Linked DNA regions of Homo sapiens: region 2 is linked to region 1. The links are contacts of gene promoters, found by promoter capture Hi-C in blood cells and fetal thymus (Javierre and others, 2016). All regions are on one chromosome and are shown on one strand. The core of a region is centred on a gene start or on the middle of the fragment in contact, and the rest is flanking DNA. Distances in the headings are between cores, read along the strand shown.

Evidence for each region. Contacts are between HindIII fragments. The CHiCAGO score rates a contact against its expected background, and 5 or more counts as called.
Region 2: a contact is called between a fragment that was not itself captured here and the fragment with the promoter of IRF6 in region 1, in 1 of 17 cell types (neutrophils). The highest score is 6.4, in neutrophils.

What each region holds. Positions count from the first base shown.
Region 1 is chr1:209,804,645-209,810,489 of GRCh38, reverse strand. IRF6 (interferon regulatory factor 6) reads left to right here and starts at 4,348. Exons shown (of 9, transcript NM_006147.4): 1 at 4,348-4,543. RefSeq lists a silencer at 4,083-4,426. The HindIII fragment of the contact is 4,987 bases long and covers 3,265-5,845 here.
Region 2 is chr1:209,704,501-209,710,663 of GRCh38, reverse strand. HSD11B1 (hydroxysteroid 11-beta dehydrogenase 1) reads right to left here and starts at 5,818. Exons shown (of 6, transcript NM_005525.4): 1 at 5,634-5,818; 2 at 4,723-4,853; 3 at 3,844-3,955; 4 at 3,536-3,721. The coding sequence starts at 5,721. The region is part of intron 1 of HSD11B1-AS1 (HSD11B1 antisense RNA 1); the gene reads left to right. The HindIII fragment of the contact is 7,813 bases long and covers 1-6,163 here.

The DNA of each region.
Region 1 (5,845 bases), core at 3,099-5,598:
GTCTTCTAACTATGGAAAGACTCAGAAGATGTTCTGAACACTTTGGTGGAGAATTCTTCTAGAGTCCAAAGCCAAAGTCTGTGCCATTGCTTGGATTGGAAAGTGAGATTCTTTTATGCTTCCTGCCATCTTGGTGATTCTAGAATTTGGAGGCCATTATAGAGTGCAACAACCAGAGTGCATTCAGTTTAGGCTGTGGCTTAGGCAATGTGTTAGGATCACCTGTGGCCCTGATGCTTTAAGATACTTGGATGGAGACAGAGATAAGCCAGGGCCAAGAGAAAAGTGAGGGTAGACCTGATGGGCTCCAGAATGCCTTCCAGAAGGAAGGTTGGAGTCTGATTTCCTTTGAAAGCACAGAATTGGATTGTTTAGTGCAATGTCCCTACCTGACTCTTTAGCAACTCCACCAAAGGTGCACAGCTTCTTTGCTATCACCAACTCCAGTAACACTAAACTCTCCACTGTATGGAGCCTTTGGGAGGAGTCCCAGTTGCCACGCTTTCTGCTCTGCCAAGAAGAGAGTGGGATTTGGGTTCATGGTTTTATTGTCACATGTCTGATATTGTAGAGTTTAAAGTCTCTGGGTGGAAAAAGAAACTCTTTCCTACCAAATGAGAGCTGACTGGGAACAGGAGAGGGGAATTCCCTCATTCCCTGTGGCTGTGAATCAGGGCCCCCGTGCTGAAATGTACGTCCCACTACCTGAAACTCAGACTCACTAGTGAGTCAGCAATGCCGCACCTGATTATCAATGGAGGGCAAAATGATGGGAGCATTGCAGGCCCAGGGCATGTTGGGAATGACTGAATCCTGAAGAGGCTCTTTTGAGAATACAGAAGAACTGATTCCTCAAGAGCTTGTGGAAAGACTCACAAGATGTTCTTATTCCCCAGATCAAGCAGATGAGGCGTGTATCAGAATAGAAGACATCAGGGTGGCCTATTGTCAGGGCTTGTTGCCTGCAGAGCCGGGGAGTTCCTCCTGATCTCTACCTTAATTCCACCTGCTTTACCCCCTTTCATTAATTCTTCAGTTGAGTGACATGAGAGTAGGGACTTGGTTTTGTTTATGGCAATATCAACAATATCAACAGTACCTAGATCCATGGGTGATTTTTTTTTTTTTTTTTTTTGAGATGGAGTTTCCCTCTTGTTGCTCAGGCTGGAGTGCAATTGTGCAATCTCGGCTCACCGCAACCTCCACTTCCTGGGTTCAGGCAATTCTCCTGCCTCAGCCTCCCGAGTAGCTGGGATTACAGGCATGCGCCACCAAGCCTGGCTAATTTTGTATTTTTAGTAGAGTTGACCATATTGGTCGGTCCGGTCTCCAGCTCCTGACCTCAGGTGATCTGCCCGCCTCAGCCTCTCAAAGTGCTGGGATTACAGGTGTGAGCGATTGCACCTGGCGATTTTTTTTTTTAAATCGTTAACAGCCAGTGCAGAACAGGTCAGAATAGACTTTGGCTGCGGAGCTGAGCAGGGGTCCAAGTGGATAGAGCCCCGGGTTTGTGTTCTAGTCTTGGTTTGTGGCTAATATGCCATGTGACCTTGAGTAAATCACTTGACCTCGCTGGGCCGCAGTTTTCTCATCTATGAAAAGGGAGAATTTAGACTAGAAGTTGCAATCAGATGCCTACAGGGTCAGGCAATTAAAGTAAATTAGTGAGCTCAATAGAGTGAGTTTGTATTGGCTGTAACGTGTAGACTCCCTCTAAATGGGCAACTGTTGCCAGGTAGAACTGCTGGTAGAGCATCCAGGGCACTTGACTCTTTAAGAGATGCTGAGAATTTTGATGTTTATGTGATACCTCCTGATATTTAAAATACTGTGTGGGTAAAAACTGGCTAAGTCAGTTTTAGTCTTGATCTAGATAGTCCAGAAGAACCCTCCCAGCTTGAGTTTTCTGATTCCAAAATATATGTCTTCTAAAGAAGGTCCTTAAGACATCCCCTTAGTCATGGGAATTTCAGCTGGTGCAAAAGTGAGTGCCTGTGTGTGGGCTCATACTTGTATGCCACTGGGGTTTTGACTCCCCTCAAATGACACTCTCCCAATGGCCTTACCCCTCATCCCTCTCATACACCTGCAGTGGAGCTTGTTTGGTCCCCAGAGCCCAGCCCTGGGCCAGATGGAAGATGCTGTTTGTCTAGTGAGCTCATCAGCAGTAAACAGCTAGCTGTGCTGATGAGCTTGCCCTTCCCCCAGTGAAGGGAAGAGTGGCCACAGGGCAGTGGTTGAGACAGAGGCTGGCTGAGTCAGGCCTTGGGGCCTTGCTGCCTTCCCAGGCCTTTGCTGGCTACATTCCAAAGCTAAATTGGGACTTGGAATCATGCCTACATTATTATCAATCTGGGGCTCTTCAACACACTTGTATGAGTATGCTAGGGCTACCATAACAATGTACCTCAGAGTGGGTGGCTTGAACAACAGAAATTTTTTGTTTCATAGTTCTGGAGTTTAAAAGTCTAAAATCAAGGGTCTGAGGGATGTGAAAAAAAAAAAAAAAAAAAGAGCTCTATTCCAGGTATCTCTCCTTGGGTTGCAGCTAGCTGTCTTCTCTTTATGTCTCTTCATATCACCTTCCCTCTGTGGGTATCTGCCTCTGTGTCCAAATCTCCTCCTTTTATAAGGACACCATTCATATTGGATTCAGGCTCACCCTAATAACCACGTTTTAACTTGATTACCTCCATAAGGATCCTGTCTCCCAATAAGGTCATATTCTGACATCTGGCTGTGGTTGCAGTGGGGGTGGTCAGGACTTCAAAATACAAATACAAATTTTTTTGTATGTGGGTGACAGTTCAACTCATTGTACCACTCCTCCACAGTTTCTCACTCATTACTTTAAACACCAAAACCTAAGTGACCTGCGCATGCCCCATTTCACCTACGACAGCTCAGTGGTTGAGGGTGGGGGATTTTTAAAAGTCTCATTTACTGTTGCACAGCCTCCTGCAAACCGGTCCTCTAGATAGATGAGGAAGGTGAGGGCAATCTCATCAAGCACCTGTTAGGGTACATGCAGGACTTGAATTTCAGGTAATAACAAGGAATGCCTTCTTGTTCTCTGACGCACTGTCTATATGGTATTTTTAATCTTTATGCCAATAATAATTGCAAGTACATATAAAGCACTTGATAAGTGCTAAATATTGTTGCAAGCAGTTTACATGTAGTTATTGAATTCCCACAATACCCCTGAGGTAGGTACTATTACTAACCTCTTTCTACAGATAAGACACCAGGGCCTAAAAAGCTTAAGAAACTTTCCCAAGTCTGTAGTAACTGATGGAGTTGGGGTCTAAACCCCAATAGTTGGCTCCAGAGGCTATGCTTTTACTCATTACACGATAGTGATCAGAGGAAGCAGGAACTCCAGTCTGGGCAACATAGTCAGACCCTGTCTCTAAAAAAAAAAAAAAAAAATTAGCCGGGCATGGTGACCCATGCCTATATTTCCAGTTACTTGGGAGGGTGAGGTGGGATAATTGCTTGAGCCCAGGAGGTTGAGCTATGATTGTGCCACTGCATTCTAGCCTGGATGACAGAGCCAGACCCTGCCTAAAAAAAAAAAAAAAAAAAAAAAAAGGAATTGAACTGGGTGCCAGTGCCTGTAATCCCAGCACTTTGCGAGGCTGAGGCGGATCCCTTGAGCCCAGGTGTTGCAGACCAGACTGTGTAACTTAATAGCAAGACCCCATCTCCAAAAAAAAAAAAAAAAAAAAAGGAAGAAAAAAGAAAGAGAAAAAAGCAAACAACAACAAAAAAGAAGGAAGGAATTATTATTCTCATTGAAGAGATGAGGAAACTGAAACCAAGAAGCCAAGAAGCTAAGTAACTTACCCAGGGTCACACGGGTAAGAGGCAGAGTAAAGGTAGAATTCTAGTCCTGAAAGCCTATGGCTTCTCCCAGACAGGACCAAGTGTCCTGGTTCTCTTCTTCATGTGCAACTCCACTTACACAGGCCCACGAGTAGTAGGGCCAACCCAGAATCTCAAAACCCTTATTTGTGCTTAACTGTCTGCATACTGCAGGGTAATTATGGGCCGTGAAGGAGGGAGGCACCCTCTCGACTTAGATCTGAACTCCCAGTCGCTTCCAGTTCCCAGGACCACCAGCCCTGAGCCGTAAGGCTAGGCCTGAATCTGGGACTTTCTTAGCCGGAGTTAGAAGCGGAGGAGTAGGGTGGGACGCTGGACGGACGCCGCTGGGCCGGGCAGCCCAGAAACGCGGAGTGTCATATTTCTTGCAACTCGCCAATCCCGAACGCCGGGGGGCGTGGCCACACCTGGGAGGCGTGGCCGGGCGGATGCGAAGGCTGCGGCGTCCTGGGGCGAGGCGCTGACGTGAGCTCGGCGCACCTGGGCTGGGCAGGTAAGGGCTGGTGCGGGACGGGGAGAGGAACCTGCAGTCCCTACTTGGGTAGAGCCAGGCGCCCCTTGGCTAAGACGTCGAGGAGCGTGGTAGCGACGGGTGATCTTCGCTGCGGACTTGGTTCGGAGGGACGTCCGCTTCTGGTGGACAGATTGAGCAAAGGTGGGTACGCCAACTTCTGGGGACCAGCTTGAGGGAGGAGAGGCTCCCCCGTGGGTGGGGTAGGACCCATCCCCGGAGTTTGTAGGGGGTGAGAGAACTTGCTTGGGGGCATCTGTGTGTTTGGGGTGGGTACCCACTGGGGCTGGGTGCCTGTCGCCCTTTTCCAGATAGCTTTGGGGCGGCCTCAGTTCTGTAGCGCTAGGCCCCTCTCGAATCTACACTTGTGTCTACTCTCCCTACCCCCACCGCCGAAGCGGAGGGCACTGCTCTCGGCCGTCAACAACCCCACTATCCGGTAGAGCTAAAGCACCGCGCCCCCTTCAGTCTTACCAACTTGCGGCTGGCCCCTGTGTCCCAGAGAGGGGACTTCCCAGGTCCGCAGGTCCTTGATCCTAGTGGGCGTTTTGGGAAACTGGAGTGAGGGTGGCCAGGAGCTTTGGAGCATTGGCGGTTTGTCTTCCCTCCCTGAGTCTGTTTGGCACAGTTAGGCCCTTCGCCCTGGGCCTGGGAGACAACCTTGGATTTCCAAGGAGCGGAGCTAGGTGCTGGGGAGGGTGGCGCTGGGGTGTGGTTGCTCTGGGGGTGGGCCCTCTTTGCCCGAAGGGGCTGGAGGGTGGTGTGGAGAATGGGGAAAGTCTCCCAGGCCTGACTTGGAAAGGAGGCCTGAGGTGTCACTCTTTACAGGGAGCCTGCTTTGTGGTAAAGGGGTCATCCTGTTCCAACCTGTTCTCTTGGTGGATGTCAAGAGTGGAAGTCAGGGAAAAGAGATGGATAGAGAGAGGAAGGCGCTTGGGTGGGATTGGTGAAAGCTGGTGTTGACCCAGGAGTGTGGTTTAGGATGAGACGTGTGTATGATGTATGACAGTGGCACTCAATACCTTGTAACTCCCATTCGCCATCCCCCAGCTTCCATCCAGCAGAAGGGAAGGGTGTGGGCATTTTGACTAGAGGCCTGCAGTTTACCCCTAAGCAGGGCTAAACAGGGAAGCCTGAGGAACGGAACTTAGACGATGGCATTTCATTTCTTTCAGGAGAAAGGGAAGAGCTGGGACTGCTAAGAATTGTCTGCGAGAAATGGCGTGTGTTTTAACCTGAGCAAAACCACTGACGGCCAAATCTCGGCTTTTGTGTGGCAGTGCCCCTGGAAACTAGTCTGGGGAGGAGCTATGGAGGTGGCAATGAGGGTGTTTATGGAGGACCTGCTCCCTAGAATAGGGGTATGGGAGAGGACAGTTATGCTCGGAGGAGGCTGAAAGTGTCCCTCCTCTATGCTCACTGTGAGGGGAATAGATAGGTTAGCAT
Region 2 (6,163 bases), core at 1,105-3,604, 98 kb after region 1:
AGGATTACTATCCCTACACGTATGCTTGCCGAGTATGTTTAACATTTGTGTTATTAGTAGTTATGAGTAGTATTAGTAGTATTTGGATTACCAATAAACCCAAAAAAGAGAAATGATGAGGAAGTTGGATTTCTAAAGTTAACTTACCAAAATATAGTAGATAAAGACAAAGAAGAAACATTGAAATGGCTCTGGTGAGTTCTGAAAAAGACTTCATAGGAGGTAGGGGGCTAAGTAGATTTTGAGAGGAGAAAGGAGCAGAGGAAGACAGGGTTTGTCCGTGATTCCTCTCAGGGGCATAAAGCAGGTGGAGAAATGGCCTTAGATGCTCAGTTCTAGCTGCCATGTGTGCAACTGATGACACACACCACAGTGATGGGATTCACCAAGCCCAGGAGCCCGAAAATGAAACCAACTTTACTTTTCTAATATTGAACCTAAGATGACCTATTTTGACTAATGTCAGATAAACTTTTTTCCAGATGTTTTCAAATGTTCTCTGCCCACTCCAGTGATTTTTTTTAGTCATATTCAAGTATTAATATTTCTACTTTGGTTTGTTTCACAAATGCTATTTAGGTATTCTCTTTCCATTCTTTCTCCTACCCCACTGTCCCCTGCACGCACTGCCGGATGGAAGGACTTTGTTTTTTGTGATGGACCTTGAATGTGAGAGGGAATGAGTCTTTTGTGTGTGTGTGTGTGTGTGTGTGTGTGTGTGTGTGTTTCACATGTGGGATGGCCTGGAGGGTATACTTTTTTCTAGTCTTATGTGTTTTTTAGCATGGGTGATGTGGGAGAGATTGCTAGTTGTTTATCAATATCAGTGTCTTTTACACAAATAGAACTTCTGATTTTTAGTTGGACACATGTTCCCTTTGAATAAAGATAACAATTGCAGCCAGCTGTGGCAGAAGAAAAGTGTACACCTTCCAGGTGGTATCCTTCTTTTTTCATTTTCTTGAGTTAGAATTCAGACATGCCAATGAGCCATCTTGGACATGCAGGTGTAAACAAGCACTCTAGGAATGGTGGTTCTGAGATAGAAGGCCTCCTGGACAGCCTCATAGGACAGAACTACCATATCAGCCCTGGACTGCCTTTCCAGGGTGTTTTGTGTGAGATAAATAAATTTAGATTTGCTTAAGCCATTGTAAATTCGGGTCTTCGTTACAGTAGCTGAACTTACATCCTAACTAGCAAGTGGTGGAAGGAGAGGAGGCTAATCAATGTAACGGGATGTTACACATACAAGAAACTTGCTCAATAGGTGCCAAGAAAAGGTGGTGAATAGTGGATAGATGTGGACTACAAGGAGGTTCCCAGAAGCAGCAGTATTGTCTCTGTTAATGCTACAGAGGTAACCAAGCCTTTAAGGAACATATTAGAAGTATAGTATTCCCATGTAATGCAATACCCAGAAATGCATTGTGGAGAAAAAACAATTCTTTATCACTGAAACTCAATAAACAACTTAAGGTATTCCCTAGAAGAAATGATTAAAACTCCATCCCAGTACTGTTTGGCTGACCTTAAGATCAACTTGATGTTTAGCATCCCATATTTATAGAGTTTAGATTTTAAAGAGGAAGGATTAATGAACATGTTTACTGACTGATTAAAAGAATACATCATAAAGCAGAGAATATTCTTCAGTTGCGGCAAGACAGCAATGTGTCTGTACTTTGCAAGTTCATAGACAGGTTTCAAGGCAAAAAAGCTGGAATCTTTTGGCTACACAAGCAATAAACACCAAAGATACTCATCCAGCTAGATTTCCTACCTCCCAGAGTTCATGGAAATTACCAAGTGTCATTCAATAAGTGTAGGAGATATGGGGAAACAGAGATTATCAGAATTTCATCACGTCCTTGGGCTCAACAGTAATTCTTAGTCCTTCTGAGCACATTTAGATCATGGGTACATTCTAGAAAGTTACATTCGTCAAAGGTGAAATACATCCTTTGCCTAGAGTGAATGTATTATTTAATCAGCTGAAATCATTAAAGCCACCTACATCATGACTGATGTGAGGATTTTGTCCAATGCCCTGGGATGGATTGGGGATGTGCCCAGCACCCTCCCACTCAGTATGCATCTGGAAGCTCTCCCTTTCTTCCAGCCCAGAGAGAGTCTGTGTCTGGGGAGGGGTGGGGAGTGTGTGTTGTCTGGGAAGCACCGGGATGCATATCAATCACACTGTTTGGCGGGTAGCACAGACACACTGCCCCTTTATCCAATCACTATGCAGGCCGTCCCTGGGCCAGAAAGGAGAACTCTTTACGATACAGATGGTGCTATTAGTTTCAATAAGAATGTTTGTGAAGTGCTTAACAGTTTACAGAGTCCTCTAGGTTATTTGTTTTTATTTTGCCAGGAACAACATTTAGATGGCGGATTTTGATCCTGGTGTTTGCACTTTCCAGCCACATCCTTCTAACTGACTAATCAACAAAGATGTGTGGAACTTGTCTCCTGGATCTATGATAAAAATGGGCCTAGAAATGTCCCAAGCTGGGAACTCACTGGTTTTTTACTGGTGATGGCTTCTGATGCTACCACCATCCAGAACACCAGGGACCTCTCTTGATCCCACAGATATCTTTTCATGACCATTTCTCTGGACACATTTCCTCCCTACCCAGCTGGTTGTTTAAATTGATCTTTTCATGTTAACATGTTCAAATTTTAGAGAATACACCCACTATAGGCAGGTCTGTTCATCTTTTTTTTTTTTCTTGTTGTTCATTTTATTTAGCTTTAGCTTAGCCCACTTATCAGACACCTGTGTGTTGTTAAAACAGTTAACTTCTCAGTTGTACCTTCACATTTACATAACTTCACCAACCTTTTGGTCATGGAGGAAGCAAAGTCCTTTTTATCCATTGTGACTAGGTCTCTCACTTAGGACCAGGACAAGCTGTACCTCCAGCAGCCTCTCAAGTCCCTTCAACCTTCCTTTGTAGAAAACAATTCAGGCTTCCAATAGGCACTCTGAACTACTGCTTTTTCTCTGCTACTTAAAAGAATTTTGTAGCCCATCTACCTTGACCAATCCTTCATTTTTTATGGTGTCACTAGTTTGTAACAGTGTCTCCTTTACTCAGGATGCGTGCCTCTCATTGAGTCCACAAATCACCCCCCTACAAGTCTCTTATCAGTACATCTGCCCATTCATGCATATGAGTAAGCTGTTAATCAGCTTTTGTTTAATATTACTATGAACATTTCAACTTCAAGTTAATATTGTAACTAGGTCTCTCCCTTAGGACCAGGACAGGCTGTACCTCCAGCAGCCCCTCAAGTCCCTTTGACCTTACTTTGTAGAAAACAATTCAGTCTTCCAATGAGCACTCAGAGCTACTGCTTTTTCTCTGTTACTTAAAAGAATTTTGTAGCCCACTTACCTTGACCAATCCCTCATTACTTCTCTGCATGGAAACTGATAAAAATTTATGTCTACTTCAGAGCCTGGCATCATCCCTGGCATTTTTTTTTTTCTTCTACCTTCCACATATGTCCCTGTCCCACTTACCAGCCAGAGAGGAGACGACAACAATGCTTCCATTGCTCTGCTTCAGCATGGGCAAGGCAGCTACAGTCAGGACCACGTAACTGAGGAAGTTGACTTCCATGCTTTTGCGCACATGGTGAATATCATCATGAAAAAGATTCAAAGAAGTGTTGGTGATGTGGTTGAGAATGAGCATGTCTAGTCCTCCTGCAAGAGATGGCTATATTAAGAAATCATCTGGGGTTGATACCTTTCCCATTCTCCTCCCAAAAGCTCTTGGTGACCCCAAGGGCAAAGTTCAGAGGAGGAGGTAAGAGAAACAGCCTCACCCATGAGCTTTCCTGCTTGGGCAACAAATTGCTCTGCGAAGGTCATGTCTTCCATGGTGCCAGCAATGTAGTGTGCTGAGGCTGCTCCAAGCTCCAGGCAGTGGGATACCACCTGCAGTGATACAGCAGAAATGGCATCAGTCTTAGCTGCAGATTTTTGGGGGGTAGTCTCTGAAGTAACGGGGGGCTTAAATGAGAGATTGCTCACAGCCCTGTTTAGGTAAGAAATGGTAAGTATGTTTGTGTGTGTGTTGCCTAATATAACCCTCATGATCATCGTCCTCTGTCTGAAATATTTTCTGGAACTTGGTGGGGTTCAAATGGATAAATCATCCCAGTGCTGGGGTTTAAGTTCATGATTTATGCTCATGGCTTCTGTGAATAGGCATTTCTGAGGGCATTATGAGTGTAGATGCTGGTTACTATGTGGGTAGCTCTAGGTTTGTGAATGTTTGTACATCCTTGGGTTTGTGAGTCCATGAGAGGGCATGTGTCTGGGAGTCTGCATGGGTATGAGGATATGTATTCATAAGCAGGTACTGGGATTTCAGTTTTTGAAAACATCCGTATGTATCTGTAGTTCCATGTGTAAATGTGTGTGACTAGGCATGTCTGTGAGCATATATAACTCAAGGACTCTGTTGCAGAATATATTACACACACACACATGAATGAATGCTTAAATGCATACTTTTATATTCCTGTGGGTTTTTTGGTGTTTGAATCTATATATGAGAGTGCAAAATTAAGTGTCTGTGTGTGTGCATGTGCCTCTGTATATAGATCTGCGATATGCTAGCTTCTGTGTATATGTGAGCATATATAAGAACACATCTGAGCATGTGACGGTACACATATCTGCGAGCATAGAACCCTCACCTTCTGTAGAGTTTCTTTTGACCTCGCTGTCACCACCACATGGGCTCCCATCTTCGCCAGATGATAAGCCATCTCTCTTCCGATCCCTTTGCTGGCCCCTGTGACAATCACTTTCTTTCCTTGGAGCATCTCTGGGGAACCCCAAAAGGAAGTGAGGACCATACCCAAGTTGGCAGCAAAATTCCTTCTCCCTCTCTGGATATAGGCATGCTTATCGCAATTTGTAACTTAAAGGTTATGAGCCCAGATCAGTTTGTCACAAACTCCGTAAATCACTGTGGGAACAGGCCAGGTCTTTCATAAACATGCTCTGAAGTGGGAGGTTTGGGCTGACAGCCTCCCTACTGTCATTTCTAAAAACCTCCATGGAAAGAGATCATAGGATGAAGCCAGAAAAGTCATGGTTCAGCTAAAATGCTGGAGTTCCAGACATTTCTGGACTCTTTCAATTTTGCTCAATTGAAAGTACATTTAACAAGGAATCAAAACACATGTGTTCATAGAAATTCCAGGGATTTTCCCTCACTTCTATGTAGTCATCATCTCCAGTTTTTTTTTTTTTTTTTTTTGCCTCCCACTTATCAGTCTCTTCATAGAGCCCAATTAGCTGCTGAGTTGTGAATTTGGGTATTACTCTCATTTTTGTAGAAGATTTGAAACTGCTTTCCATTAAGGGTGCCAAATAAAGCATGGCCTATTTGGCTAGATTTTGGCTACACGATTACCCTTCCTACACAGTCCCCCCTGTCCACAGCCTGTAGCTGGAGGACACAAAAATACCATCTTAACTCAGGGTTCCCTCATTTTCACCAACTTTGAGGATCAAGAACACATCTTGGTCCTCAGGAACACTCAAGCACCCCTGTGTTTTTTAAACCTATTCCTCCAAAATGAGACGCATGGGTACTTACCTGGTCTGAATTCCTCGTTTGCAGAATAGTAGTAGTAGGCCATGAAGAGCCCCAGAATGGGGAGGAGATATTTTTTCATAAAAGCCATCCGACAGGGAGCTGGCCTGAAGACTCCTGTAGGACACACAGAGAGAACCTACAGAGCTTTCTACAACCTCCTAAGCAGGCAGCAGCCTCTGAATTGTGACATCAGGGACGGGGGAGGCTGGAGTAGTCTCAGGCAGTGCTAGCCAATTTCCCTGTCAGAGCAGCGATTGGCTTTGGGTGGGATCCCATTCGTCCCTGGCAGCCTGTGTGGTGGATTTCATAATGGACAATGTTTACTCCATTTCATTGAGCAAGAGGAGACTTCCAGATGGCCAAGCTCATGACTGTACAGGACTGGATTCCTGAGCATCCCTACCCGAGTCCATCTTACTCTTAACACCATTTACGCCAGGGATCAATGATCTTTCAAAAGTAATTTGTCAAAGACAGAGAGAGAGGAGTGCATGTAGGGCTTCTGGGGGGAAATGTGAGTAATAGCAAAG